Regions from separate parts of the Homo sapiens genome. Here regions 1, 2, 3 and 4 are each linked to region 5. The links are contacts of gene promoters, found by promoter capture Hi-C in blood cells and fetal thymus (Javierre and others, 2016). All regions are on one chromosome and are shown on one strand. Each heading gives the region's core, a stretch centred on a gene start or on the middle of the fragment in contact. The rest is flanking DNA. Distances are from core to core; before and after follow the strand shown.

Evidence for each region. The method cuts DNA at HindIII sites, captures the fragments that hold promoters and counts their contacts. A CHiCAGO score of 5 or more calls a contact.
Region 1: a contact is called between a fragment that was not itself captured here and the fragment with the promoter of RPS21 in region 5, in 1 of 17 cell types (endothelial precursors). The highest score is 5.3, in endothelial precursors.
Region 2: a fragment that was not itself captured here is called in contact with the fragment with the promoter of RPS21 in region 5 in 1 of 17 cell types (endothelial precursors); the score reaches 5.2 in endothelial precursors.
Region 3: a fragment that was not itself captured here is called in contact with the fragment with the promoter of RPS21 in region 5 in 3 of 17 cell types (endothelial precursors, M1 macrophages and M2 macrophages); the score reaches 6.9 in endothelial precursors.
Region 4: a fragment that was not itself captured here is called in contact with the fragment with the promoter of RPS21 in region 5 in 8 of 17 cell types (erythroblasts, endothelial precursors, megakaryocytes and 5 more); the score reaches 7.0 in erythroblasts.

The regions. Positions count from the first base shown.
Region 1 is chr20:62,170,147-62,172,846 of GRCh38, forward strand. SS18L1 (SS18L1 subunit of BAF chromatin remodeling complex) reads left to right here. Exons shown (of 11, transcript NM_198935.3): 9 at 2,536-2,655. Among named protein-coding and RNA genes, the nearest start is that of MTG2, 12 kb to the right of the region's middle. The HindIII fragment of the contact is 6,452 bases long and covers 1-2,700 here.
Region 2 is chr20:62,189,102-62,191,801 of GRCh38, forward strand. The region is part of intron 1 of MTG2 (mitochondrial ribosome associated GTPase 2); the gene reads left to right. Among named protein-coding and RNA genes, the nearest start is that of MTG2, 7.4 kb to the left of the region's middle. The HindIII fragment of the contact is 4,226 bases long and covers 1-2,700 here.
Region 3 is chr20:62,596,445-62,599,144 of GRCh38, forward strand. It overlaps LINC02970 (long intergenic non-protein coding RNA 2970), which reads right to left. Exons shown (of 2, transcript NR_184037.1): 2 at 1-774. Among named protein-coding and RNA genes, the nearest start is that of LINC02970, 5.6 kb to the right of the region's middle. The HindIII fragment of the contact is 1,373 bases long and covers 759-2,131 here.
Region 4 is chr20:62,242,303-62,245,002 of GRCh38, forward strand. All of the region lies in intron 1 of OSBPL2 (oxysterol binding protein like 2), which reads left to right. Among named protein-coding and RNA genes, the nearest start is that of OSBPL2, 5.1 kb to the left of the region's middle. RefSeq lists enhancers at 1,491-2,099, 2,100-2,700. The HindIII fragment of the contact is 4,482 bases long and covers 1-2,700 here.
Region 5 is chr20:62,385,653-62,388,352 of GRCh38, forward strand. It overlaps RPS21 (ribosomal protein S21), which reads left to right and starts at 1,451. Exons shown (of 6, transcript NM_001024.4): 1 at 1,451-1,484; 2 at 1,669-1,736; 3 at 1,959-2,022; 4 at 2,191-2,262; 5 at 2,657-2,700. The coding sequence starts at 1,687. It overlaps RPS21-DT (RPS21 divergent transcript), which reads right to left and starts at 1,337. Exons shown (of 1, transcript NR_186459.1): 1 at 651-1,337. RefSeq lists enhancers at 589-638, 917-1,608, 1,609-2,300 and silencers at 989-1,108, 1,539-1,728. The HindIII fragment of the contact is 6,470 bases long and covers 1-2,700 here.

The sequences.
Region 1 (2,700 bases), core at 26-2,525, 220 kb before region 5:
CACAGATGCGCCATGCTGCCCGGCACCTTCTCACGGGCACCCCGCAGAATGCCAGAGGATTCTTAGAGAAAGAAAAGAGCTGGGCACGGTGGCTCACGCCTGTAATCTCAGCACTTTGGGAGGCCGGGGCAGGCGGATCACGAGGTCAGGAGATCGAGACCATCGTGGCTAACACGGTGAAACCCCGTCTCTACTAAAAATAGAAAAAAATTAGCTGGGCGTGGTGGCGGGCGCCTGTTGTCCCAGCTACTCAGGAGGCCGAGGCAGGAGAATGGCGTGAACCCCGGAGGCAGAGCTTGCAGTGAGCCGAGATTGTGCCACTGCACTCCAGCCTGGGTGACAGAGCGAGACTCCATCTCGAAAAGAAAAGAAAGAACCCTGGAGTACTTGCTGGTTGTGGAGGAAGGCCCCACATCTGCCCGCCCCGTTGCTGTCCTGTTGAGAGCACGGCCTGGGCTCCCCCGAGCCCTGCAGATTTCATGCAACACATCTGAAAACGGCAAAGGCCTTTTCCACAGATGTCGTGCCCCCTTTCCCTGCAGTTATCTCAGCAGCCCCCTTTCTTTGGGGATAGGGCGGCTGCTGCCAGTTCCCACTAGATCGCCTGAGCACCCACTGGGGTGTGAGAGCCAGGCCTGGTCCCTGTGTGCTGGGGCTGGGTGTTCTGAGCTGGCACTCTCACAGTTGTTGCATACCTGCTGGGTGCCAGGGCAAAGCTGGCCCGTTTCCTACAAACTGGCTCCTTTATTTTTTTTTTTTGTTTATGTTTTTTTGAGATGGAGTCTCACTCTATCGCCCAGGCTGGAGTGCAGTGATGCGATCTCGGCTCACTGCAACCTCCTCCTCCTGGGTTCACACCATTCTCCTGCCTCAGCCTCCCGAGTAGCTGGGACTACAGGCTCCCGCCACCATGCCGGGCTAAATTTTTTGTATTTTTAGTAGAGACGGGGTTTCACCATGTTAGCCAGGATGATCTCGATCTCCTGACCTTGTGATCCACCCGCCTCGGCCTCCCAAAGTGCTGGGATTACAGGCGTGAGCCACCGCACCCGGCCACAAACTGGCTCCTTTATTATGTAAAGAATAAAGTGGGCTATAAAACATGAGAATATGCAGGCTGACCCCCAAAAGCCTGACACCCTTGAAAACCCACTCCCCCATGTCTCAGATGGCTTTCATGGGGGCAGGAGAAAGGATAGTGACCTTAAGTCTTCTCCCGTGACGGTGACAGCTCGTTTGCCAGCTGTTGCTGGAACCGGCCCTGGATTTAGAGGAAGGCGTGGAAGTTCAAGACTCAAGATACTTCCTGGATAGAGAATAACTGGAAAGGCTCAAGTAAGTTTTTCCGAAGCTCTCGCCTTAGGAGGAGTTCAGCCTGGAATAAGAGCGTGTGTTAGTTTTGTCATCCCACCTAACTACAGATTGAATTACCCTGATAGGTTTTTAAGCCATTCCAGTGTGCATTATCTCAATAAAGCTGTTATTTAAAAAAAATACTAGATTGCAGTTTTAAAATACTTAAATTTTACAGCTTCTAAAAAAGGAAAGTTATTTCCAACCAGAAAAGTAAAGTAGAAAATGGATTCTTTGCGCAGAGCATGGTGGCTTACGCCTGTAATCCCAGCACTTTGGAAGGCAGGGGCAGCAGGATTGCTTGAGGCCAAGAGTTCGAGACCAGCCTGGGCAACATAGAGAGACCCTGTCTCTACAAAAGATTTAAAATTACCTGGGCATGGTCGGGCACCGTGGCTCACGCCTGTAATCCTAGCACTTTAGGAGGCCAAGGTGAACGGATCACAAGGTCAGGAGATCGAGACCATCCTGGCTAACATGGTGAAACTTCATCTCTACTAAAAATACAAAAAATTAGCCTGGCGTTGTGGCGGGCACCTGTAGTCCCAGCTACTCGGGAGGCTGAGGCAGGAGAATGGCGTGAACCCGGGTGGGGCGGAGCTTGCACTGAGCTGAGATCTCGCCACTGCACTCCAGCCTGGGCAACAGAGCGAAACTCCATCTCAAAAAAAAAAAAAAATTATCTGGGCACGCTGGCACACACTGTAGTCCTAGCTACTTGGGAGGCTGAAGTGAGAGGAACACTTGAGCCAGGGAGATGGAGGCTGCAGTGTGCCCTCATTGCACCACTGCACTCCAGCCTGGGTCCCAGAGCGAGGCCCTGTCTCTGAAAAAAAAAAAAAAAATTATATCTGCAAAGACCCTATGTCCAAATAAGGTTCCATTCACAGGTACTTGGAGTTAGGACATCAGCATCTCTCTGGGGAGCACATTTGACCCGCGACGCTGGCGTTCATCTCTGTCTTAGTTGTCATATTAACCATTTCGTTTCTTAGCTTTCCATTTGTATTTCTATAAGATAAAGGTGTAGTATAGTATTTGAATGGTTGTGAAAAAATAAACATGCCGAAGCAATGGATTTGGTTTTGGGATTCCAAAGTTACCGTGTCGTGAGTGGGCCACAGAATGAGCCCCCTTAGCCCAGGTGGGGAAAGTCATTTCTGTGTCTCCTCCTCCCTCCAGGAAACTCCCAGTACAGCCAGCAGCAGGCCGGGTACCAGCAGGGTGCCGCGCAGCAGCAGACGTACTCCCAGCAGCAGTACCCCAGCCAGCAGAGCTACCCCGGGCAGCAGCAGGGCTACGGTAAGAGGCGAGCACGGTCCTCGGGGCCCCCCAGCGCCCACCCCT
Region 2 (2,700 bases), core at 2-2,501, 200 kb before region 5:
CGCTTGAGACCAGCCTGGGTAACTGGGAGACCCTGTCTCTGCAAAAAAAATTTAAAAATTAGGCACAGTGGCACTTACCTGTAGCCCCAGCTACTCAGGAGGCTGAGGCAGGAGGATCTCTTAAGTACAGGAAGTCAAGGCTGTAATGAGCTGTGATTATGTCACTGTGCTCCAGCTTGGGTGACAGAGTGAGACTCTGTCTCAAAAAAAAAAAAGAAAAAAAAGTGTCTCTTTCTCTCATTCTATTGCTCAGGCTGGAGTGCGGTGGCATATTCATAGCTCATAGCAGCTTTGAATTCATGGGCTCAAGTGATTCTCCCACCTCAGCCTCCAAAGTAGCTGGGACTATAGGGGTGCGCCACCATGCCCAGCTAATTCCTTTGGTAGAGACAGGAGTCTTGCTATTTTGCCGAGGCTGGTCTCGAACTCATGGCTTCAAGAGATCTTCCCGCCTTGGCCTCCTACAGTGCTGGGATTACAGCCAGGAACTGCTGTGCCCAGCTAGCTCTTTTTAATCCACTTTGTCAACCTCTGCCTTTTAATTAGAATTTGTAAACATTAACTTTTTTTTTTTTTTTTTTTGAGATGGAGTCTCGCTCTGTCTTCCAGGCTGGAGTGCAATGATGCAATCTCGGCTCACTGCAACCTCCGCCTCCCCGTTCAAGCAATTCTCCTGCCTCAGCCTCCTGAGTAGCTGGGATTACAGGCACACGCCACCATGCCCAGCTAATTTTTGTATTTTTAGTAGAGACGGGGTTTCACCACGTTGGTCAGGCTGGTCTCAAACTCCTGACCTCGTGGTCCGCCCGCTTCAGCCTCCCAAAGTGCTGGGATTACAGGCATGAGCCACCGCGCCCAGCCAACATTAACATTTAATGAAATTATTTATATGGTTAGATTTAGGTGCACTTTTATTATTTGTTTCCTATTTGTCCCCTCTGTTTTTTGTTTGTTTGTTCTTTTTCTTTGGAATTGTTGGGCTAGTTCTGAGCATTTCATTTATCTGTTGGCTTTTCGGATCTGTGTCTTTGTGTTGTGTCTTAGTCATTGCTCTGGAGGTTCCAGTCTGCACACCTGTTAGCCTTCACTGTCTGCTCAGAGTTCATACTGTGCCCCTCACAGAAACGTGGGGACCTTGCAGTCATCTGGGTCCCTCGAATCCCCTCCTGACCTTTCTGTTGCCTTTCATGTGGATTACTTCTGTGCGCGTTGGAAGCCAACTACGCAGTATTTTTTTGTCTACAGTCTTACATATTTAAGAACTCCTAAGAGGAAAACAATAGTATTTTATATTTACCAATTCTGTTGCTCTCCCTTCCCTCCTCAAGATCCAGGCTTCCCTCTGGTATCATTTTCCTTCAACCCGAGGAACTTTCTTGAGCATTCCTTATACAGCAGCTGTATTAGTGACAAACTATGTTCGTTTTCTGCCATCTAGAATCTTTATTGCACCTTCGTTTCTGAAAGATATTTTCCCTGCGTATAGAATACCTCGGTGCCTCTTTTCTGACAACACTTAAAAATATCCCTACATAATGGTTAAAAGCAGGGTGGATCCTGGCCTAGATCCTGGACCAGAAGAAGGACGCTCTTGGGAAACTGCTGAGCCCCAAGCCCCACCTGGAGCTCAGTTAGTAGCGGTGCAGCGGCGGCGGCCGCACAGGCACGGCTGCGGGGGCACTGGGGAGGAAGTCCGCAGGGATGCCTTTGCACCTTGTCCACAAATCTAAAACCATCTCAAAATCAGCTGTCCTGTAAAATATATTTACAGGAAGGGTATCAAGGGGAGGGTGTCCCATGGAGAGGTGGCCCGGCACGGGAACTCAGCCAGTCGGAGAACAGAGACCCGCTAAAGAATGGGGAGCTCTGGGAGCAGGCGGGGAGGTGGAGCTGAGGGCGGGTCACAGCAGGTAGGGGTTGAGCAGCTCCATAAATATCTTAAAGTGCATGGAGGCCCGGTTTCTTATAGGCGGAGAATGGAGTTACCAAGACCACAAGAGAAAATTAGAATGACCCCAGAGTGCTGAATTGGGAATGAGGACGTCCTGTGCACAGCTGGCCTGCTGCCTCCCACGTGTCAGGGCTGGCTCGGGAGTCAGGAGAGGCTGAGGAACCTTCCAGCCCAAGGAGCTGGACAAGGTGTGGCAGCTGCAGGCAGCCGGGATAGGGACGCAGACTTTCCTACAGGGAGAGGCACTGCTGAGACCGGGGCCCACGTGGGAGGGGCTGTCGGTCATGGCCAGTCTCAATGACACCCTGGTTCTGGAGGGGACACCATTTTCTCTAGGAAACACACATGGACTGTTCTGGGTGCAGGGAAGTCCAGTCGGCGACTGACTCTTAAGTGATTCAGGAGGAAGTTCTTTGTACTCTTCTTCCAGCTTTTCTGTAACTGTGATTGCCTCAGAATTAAAGCAGAATGGCCAAGGACCCCACAGAGATAGTGACCCCCCCAAAGGAGGTGGCACCTTTTCAGAGGAGTGAGGCTGGGGAGAGGGAGGCGTCCGAGGCACTGCGAGGGAGGAGGCAGGCGGTGTCCCCTCGTTGTGCTCCCGCTCTGGCCCCGTGTTGAGTTTTCAGCCGTCCACTGGGGCCCCTTCTGTACACATCTTTTGTAGTCAGGATGGGGAGCACCTTGTAAGGTCCCTCCTGTGCGACCTGCTGAAGACTGGGGAGCTCTGGGAGCAGGCAGGTATTTGT
Region 3 (2,700 bases), core at 195-2,694, 210 kb after region 5:
CAGATGCAAAGAAAGGGGACGTATCCTGGTGGGGGGACCCGGAGTCTCCGTTGCCCCCACAGATCAGTCTCTGGGTGCCTCCCTTGGTGCTGAGAGCAGGGAGGGCCTGAGAGCCATCCCGAGCCCGTCTCGGTTCACGCTTCCCTGCCTGGCAGGACCCAGGGAGAGCTGGGCGGGTGGGGCAGCCACTCCCGGCAGTTCCGAGAGGATCTGGAGGAAACGTGCCTTACTGCAAGGAGATGGCTGGCTAGCGGTGGAGCCCTGGGCGCCCTCAGGGGAGAGCCTTCCGGGGACAGCTGCCACCCTTCTGTGGTGCCGGCCTCCTTCCCGCCATGCACCATGCCCACGGCACCCAGATGGTGGAGCCGCCGCCGGTTCACACTCTGGGGAGTTTTCCCAGCAACAGGTCCCTCCAGCCAGGGCATGCAGGAAAGTGCCCTTACGACGTGCTCAGGGATACAGCCACTGCTCCCAAACGTCTCTGCCCAGAAAGGCAGGTGGGATGTTGACCATAGACACAATAACCAACGCTTGCTGTCGTGGGGCCTGTTTGACAGAGGGACAATGGAGGCCAGAGAGGCAAAGGTGACTTGTCCAAAATCACCCAGCCAGGGCCATTAGCCACCTGCTCAGCACTGCAGCTTTTGTGCCAGGGACCTGCAGACACTCACTCACACTCATGGAGCCAGGAGGACCAATCCATGAGCACAGGGCACCTCGGAGTCCCGGGCGGGCATTCTCCGGCGTCCTTCTTCTGAAGCTTCTGAAAAGTTGCTGAGAAAGACAGAGAGGGTGACAAGAAGAGGACAGGTGTGAGACCCTGCAGAACTGGGTTCCACGTGCCAGCAGGACCCAGAGACCACGGCACTCCCTTCTCCCTACTAACTGGAGACTCCGAGAGGAGTTCTAGACATGGCAAGACGAAACAAGTCCGTATCCCTTCTTTCCCAGAATCGAGAAAAATGACCGCATTTGTCAGCAGAGCATGCACTAGGCGAGCCCTGCCTTGCTGTTTAATTCATCCCAATGCTCCTTCCGAAGGGGCCCTCAGAGGATGCTTCCAAAGCCTGGCATAGGCGAAGCTCAGGACCCTGCACCAGGAGGTCCCACCCCGGAGCCCGGATCACTCCGGGAATCACAGCTTTCGGGAGGAGCACCTTGCTACCGAGCCTTTGGGGTCCTGCCCGGGCCAGCCCTTCTGCTTAGGGACCTGCAGTGACCCTGTGCTGGGTCATGTTCTTCTTGGCACAATGAGCACTCCCTGGGCAGGTGGTCCTGGCCCCTGGGAGCTCGGGGATAGAAACACAGAAGAGGTGTGGTCGGTGCATCTCTCAGATGACTCCACTTAGAGTAGTGTCCCCTGCCTCCAGCTTCCACCAGAGTGTGCCTTGGTGGAGACAGTTGCCAGCATGGAGGGGGCATGACCAGCCTGGGCCACTGCCAGCCTTGCTCAGCTGACAGCTGCTGCATGACCTTTGGCATGGCCTGTGGTCTCCCTAGGCCTCCCCATCTGTTGAACAAGAAGTGATCTGGACCAGAGACAAGCTGGCAGCCACGGCTGGGCAGCACCCACAGGCATGTGCGTCTTAGGGCTGTGCAGTGCTGTTGAAAGTTTGCCGTACACTGCTGGGGGGGATGGAAGATGGTTCGGCCACTCTGTAAAACTGTCCTGCAGGTTCTTAAGCTAGACACACCCCTACCAGAGACTCAGCCGTTCCACTCCTAGGAATTCTTCCCAGAGGGATGAAAACGCGTTCACACAAGGACTTATGCATGACTGTCCATAGCAGTTTTATTTGTGATAGCAAAAACCTGGGGGAAAAACCAAAATGTCTACCAACAAGTGATTGGATGAACAAATCATGGTGCATCCATACAACGCAGAAATAAAAAGGAGTGGAATTTTGAAACACATGACAAAATCAAACGTGAAAATAATTATGCTGCGTGAAAGAAGGCGTGTATACATGTGACTTCGTTCATATGGAATTCTGCAAAATGCAGTTGTCTGTAGTGACATCGGTGGTTCCTGGGGACAGGGGTGGGAGGACACAGGCAGGAGGACATGCTGTGGGTGACGAGGTTCACCGTGGACCATGGGAAGGGTTTCGTGGGTGTGCACATAGGTCGAAGCTTTCCAAATCATCACTTTTACATGTGCAGTTGATTGTGTCAAATAATCCTCAGTAGAGCTGGTCAAGATAGTTGAAACTATATTCAAAACTGGGAAACTGAACATAATGACCCCAATTGCACATTTCTGTTGGAAAATTAGAAGTTCTGGTAACACTAGGCCTGTATTCAGGTGTGGTGTGGGGAGTGGGGTGTGGCTTCCAAGGGCTGGGCGTGGCTGTGTTGGGTTGGGCGTGGCTGGGCTGGACACGGCTGAGCTGGGCTGGGCGTGGCTAGGCTGGGCTGGGTTGGGTGTGGTTGGTCATGGCTATGTTGGGCTGGGTGTGGCTGGGTGTGGTGTGGCGTGGCTGGACTGGGCATGGCTGCACTCAGCTGTGTTGGGCTGGATGTGACTGGGCGTGGTGTGGCGTGGCTGGGCTGTGCGTGGCTGCACTCAGCTGTGTTGGGCTTGGCTACTGCCCTCTGCACAGGCCTCACCGCTCCTCACTGTCCACGCGCTCTGTGGTCCAGCATCATTTCTGGTCTCGTTGGCTCTGCGGATTGTGTCCCTTATGCCTGGCCAGCTGC
Region 4 (2,700 bases), core at 74-2,573, 140 kb before region 5:
CTTTCCTTTTCCTTCCAGATTCAGAAAAGAACTTGGGATCATTCAGCAGAATGTCACAGCATCCACATTCTTTCCGCTGGAGCTTCTGCTGATGCAAATCCTGTGACCTCTGAGTTGAGCTGAGTGGTGGAAGTGAGCTTTTATAAGGGACTGGATCTGAGACTCGTGCCTGATGTTTGTGGCTGTTTCTCTTTGCTTGCCTTCTGTTTTCAGTGGAACACTCGCTTGATGTATTTTGAGAAACAAACTCTGGGATCAGTCCTGTTGAGCTAGTGGCTGGCTCCATAGTTTGGGGCCTGAAGAGGTTCCCGCACCCTCAGGGCTTGTGGCGGTCATCAGGCCTCTCTCCTGGGTGTAAGGTGTGTACTTCTCACCTGCGCACTGAGGGCCTGGGGGCTGTGGCCCCGACGCTGAGGCAAGTCAGGGGTGGGAAGGGTCTGAGGGGCTCTTGGCTGAGCAGACACTGAGCACATTTCTTTATCAAAGGCGCTGGGACTGCAACCTTCAGGGGTGCCCAGAGAGCGCCTGTTGTGGGCTCATACGGGGAGTTCTTGGAGGAGCACCAGGCAGGGAGGACTGTAGTGTGTAGGGAGTTGTGTGGAGTTTTGGTTCCAGAAAAGACGGAGGCAGCTGTAGAGGAAGGAGGACTATGGTGTGGAAGTGAGTGCCTGTGCTTTGTACTGAATAAACCTAAGGCTGATCCAAGGCTGATCGTGAGAAAGAGCCCCCTGTAACCTGGGACCTTGTGCCACTGTGCTCGGCCAGAGAGCAACTTCCATTATTGCCTTAAAACTAGGGGGACTGTGATTCAGTGACATTTCGGTGACTCCGATAATGACGGCAGGTGTCAGGTGCGCACAGGGCGTGGGGCTACCCTCTTACTGTGAAAGAGGACACGGGCTGCGTCTGTGGTGGCGAGCTCCTGCGAGTGCCCTGGCTCTGGCTTGGCCTCTCTTGATGATGTAGCAGAGCTGGGAGTCTCGCTGTAATCATCACCCGTCTTCCAAGTAAGTCTCACCTGTGGGAAATGCTGGAACACCTGAGCGGAAGCAGAGCCAGGGCAGTGCCTGAGCTGGGGCCAGGGGAGGGGTCCCAGTGCAGAGGTGCCCGAGGAGCCCTAGCGCCTGCCCCGCAGCCCCTGCCCCGCAGCGCCTGCCCCGCAGCGCCTGCCCGGCAGCTCCGCCTCTTCAGTGGCTCGGCTGTCAGGGTAGAAGGCTCCTGGGTTAACATCATGGAGTTTTCACCCCTGCTTCTCATCAGAAAAGCTGGGGGAACTTTTTAAAAAGTGTGGGTTCAAGGCCCAGCCCCAGCTTCACTGAGCCTGGGTTTCCCGGGAGGGGCCCAGGAAGAGATGTGTTTAACAAGCTCGGGAGGGTCTGGGGTGGGTCCTCAGCGGGGAGTCCAAGTGCTGGAGGCCCACGGTGGGGTCAGGACCCTTTTTTAGATCAAGGACCCCTTTGAGAACTTCATGAATATGAATAATGTGGGTCATTATTCTGGGGAAAAAAATGAACGAAAAATTTTTTTTCCTGTTTTTTTAAATTTTTTAATTAAAAAAAAATTTTTTTTGCAGAGGGTAGGGGGGTTAGAGATTGGTGGTTTTCCCTGACCTTGGTTTGAAGCCCTGCCTGTAGGTGCTCAGGAAGCACAGTTGGCAGCCACGTGGGCAGGTCTGATGTTAGGGTGACAGGTTTCTCAGCACAGTGGACCCCATTAGGGCTGCACAGGATGAAGATGGGCACGATGGTGAGGAGGGCCTGGAGCTGAGGCCACAGAGAAGGAGGCGGCCAGAGGGCAAGGACGCACTCCAGCAAGCCAGCCACTCCTTGGCTGGGCAGGTGCCCTGGGGAAGGCCGGGAGCCCTGCAGGACAACAGCCTCTCACCTGGGTCACTCACTTCCCTTTGCTGTCTTAATTTTCCTCCCACTCCCTCACCGCGTCCTCCGCCTGCTGTGGCCCTTGCTGGGTTGTGAGATGTGGGTACAAGGTGTCTCCTTCTCCTCTAGCTGCAGCCGCAGGCTGGGCTCCTCTCGGGGCCGTTGGTTTTGATCATCAGAGATACACAGCGGCGGCGGGTCGGGGGCTGGCTGGACTGCTGCTGCCCTTGGAGTGCTCTCCCTGCCCTCCGGCATGGCTTTCTGAGAGCAGGGCGCCCGTGAGCTGTGGGGCATGCGCCCTGTCCATTGCCTTCCCACCCAGTCTCGTGGGCCGCATTGGAACAGCTTTTTATTGTGTTGCATAAGGAGAAGGTTGATTAAAACACATGTTTTTGTACGGAAGCGCTTGCATTCATCTTGTGTGTTTGGAAATACATCGTACTGCATTACAAGGTAATGTTCCTCGAGGTGCGTGGTGTATTTTTGGCAATTAATATTCCACAGGAAGCAGTTAAGTCAGCGACAAGACTTGAGGGAGTTGACTGTGGTGAGTGGGGCGCTAGGCTCCGCTTCCGGGACGTCGGGCCACACTGGCCGCGAGGCCCAGTGGGAAGGTTTGCCACTCCCCACAGCTGCTTCTTGGGACCAAGCCGGGCTCACCTTTGCCTGCCTCTCAAGGTCACCCTCTTGGCATGGAGAATGGTAAACAGTGGGGGTGCTGCTGTCTGCACAGTGGGAGAGGTTCACCTGCCTTTCTCAGTGTAGAAACTTCCTGCGTGAATTCTGGACTGATGCAGAGTCCTCATGTGCACCTGGCAAGTTT
Region 5 (2,700 bases), core at 201-2,700:
AGAGTATAGTATTGGATTATTTGTAACGCAAAGGATAAATGCTTGAGGTGATGGATGCTCCATATACCCCATGTGATTACTACGCACTGCATGCCGGTATGAAAATATCTCATGTGCCCCATAAATGTACACACCCACTATGTACCCAAAAAATTAAACATAAAAAAACTTTTTTTTTTTGAGACGCAGTCTTGCTCTGTCGCCCAGGCTGGAGTGCAGTGGCGGGATCTCAGCTCACTACAAGCTCCGCCTCCCGGGTTCACGCCATTCTCCTGCCTCAGCCTTCCGAGTAGCTGGGACTACAGGCGCCTGCCACCACGCCCAGCTAATTTTTTGTATTTTTAGTAGAGATGGGGTTTCACCATGTTGGCCAGACGGGTCTCGAACTCCTGACCTCAGGTGATCCACCCACCTCCGCCCAAAGCGCTGGGATTACAGGCCTGAGCCACCGCACCTGGCCACTGAGTCTTAAGTTTTCTGAGGCTAGTTCTACATCCTAGGATCATGTCCCCCGCCCAGAGAAGACCCCAACATAGGCCGCGCTGCTCCCTCCGTCTACCGGTTTGGAGCTTCTCCTGGCAACAGGGTTCAGGCTACTAACAAGGCCTTCCTCAAGACCCCACCCATAACCAACGACCATACTTCGTGGGTCCATCTTTGTAACATCTTTACTTCCTTGGAGCAAATTCCCAGGAATGGGTTTTCGGGGTCCAAGGGTATGCACCTCTAGCACTACGACAAACGCGGCCAACACGCTTCAGGGAAACGGTGCCCCAGTTTGCATTCTGCTTCCCCTGCCCTGCCCTGGGGGTCTGACTGGTGAAACATGGGATGGCAGAGTGGTCGGGTGTTTCAGATTCCACGGTGGGCCGGGGTCTTTTCCTACCCTCGGGAGCCGTCTGAATTTCTCCTCTGCCGAGTTCCTGCGGGTGTCCTTCGCCCACCGGCCCGGGGGAGTGAGTAGCAGGCACCAGGTGAGCAGGCCTCCGCTCGCAGCGGCTACGTGCACGGGCAGGAGCACCGCCCCACGCCCCAGGTGGCCGCAGGGTGAGGGGACCGGAGGGCGGGAGGCGCACAATGGGGGGCACGCCCGTATCTCTAGCCCGGCCGGCAGCGGGCAGCGAGGCTCAGTCCTCGCCCCTTCTCCCAGCTGCTATTCGGGGCTCCCGAGGCGCTCAGAGGGGTCGACTGCGTCCGTGGGGCACAACCCAGGGGCCAGGCTAAGACGCCACACACGGCAACGACCCTCAACGACAACGACCCCCACGACGCCCCGCGCCCCAGGGCCAGCAGGCTGGGGTCCGAGAACCTCCTTGCCGGAAGCGGAAGTGCGTCACGGCGACGGCCGGCAAGCACGCACCGCGCAGACTCGCTGTGGTGGCGTGACCCGGAAGCGCTCGCCGAGGCCCCTCCTTGCCCGCCGATATCTCTGCCGGGTGACTAGCTGCTTCCTTTCTCTCTCGCGCGCGGTGTGGTGGCAGCAGGTGTGGCGCGCGGCGCGGGCTTCGGGCTCAGGGCTGGGGCTGGGGCGGGAGTGGGGGCTTGGACGCGGGGGACGGGGTGCGGGGTGCTGGGTGCGGCTGGGGCCGTGACCCTAGGGGCCGGTTTGCGCCGGGAGCCGGGGCACGGTTCCGGCCGTACTCACGGCGCCGCGCGGTGACTCCCCAGGCGCAGCCCAGCCTCGAAATGCAGAACGACGCCGGCGAGTTCGTGGACCTGTACGTGCCGCGGAAATGGTAAGCGCCCCCCACATGCCTCTCTTCCGTCCTTACCTAACCACCACGTCCCCTCGCCTGCCCTTGTTCCCCCACACCCCTCCCGTCCTTACCTCGTCACGTCCCTAACTTGTCCTGCCCCCGACGTTACTCTTTTCCATTCATATACCCCCAACCTCCCTCGTCCCCTCTTTCATTCTTACCGCCCAAGTCCCCTCTGCTCACTGCGCCCTTTCTCCACAGCTCCGCTAGCAATCGCATCATCGGTGCCAAGGACCACGCATCCATCCAGATGAACGTGGCCGAGGTGAGCTGGGAGCCCGGGAGGCGGGAAGGTTGTGATATATGTGCGGGAAAGGCAGGCTGTCCCATTGTGGAGGAGCCCCTGGGGTGAAGGTACAGGCAGAGGCTGGCTTTGAGGATTGGTGTTTCCCAAACCTGGGGGAGTGGTTTGTGACCCTTCTTCTCTTTCTAGGTTGACAAGGTCACAGGCAGGTTTAATGGCCAGTTTAAAACTTATGCTATCTGCGGGGCCATTCGTAGGATGGTGAGTGTTTCCCTGGGCTTTGCTCATCACTTCGGGACATCGTGGACTTTACCGTGCGCATTGGAGTGTGTGATGGTGCCTGAGTAGATCTGCTGGCAGAGTAGTTTGAGCCAGCTGGACTGGGCTGGCCGCCTGCCGCTTCTTGAGGGTGGAAGAGGGGTGCTCTGAGAAGACACTCAGGCAGCAGACTCTGCCTCTCACTAGGAGGTGCCCCCCCGACCCCGCTCCACCATAGTCAGGCTGCAGGCTGCCCCGGGAGAGGTGGCTCCCCTTCTGCGCCTGTCTCCATTCGCTCAGCGGGGGAGAGACGTGGGCTGGTGGCACAGCTGACCTTCTGCCATCTCAGGCAGCCGGAGTGGAAATATTCTTAGTGTGCTTTTTTTTTTTTCTTAAGGGTGAGTCAGATGATTCCATTCTCCGATTGGCCAAGGCCGATGG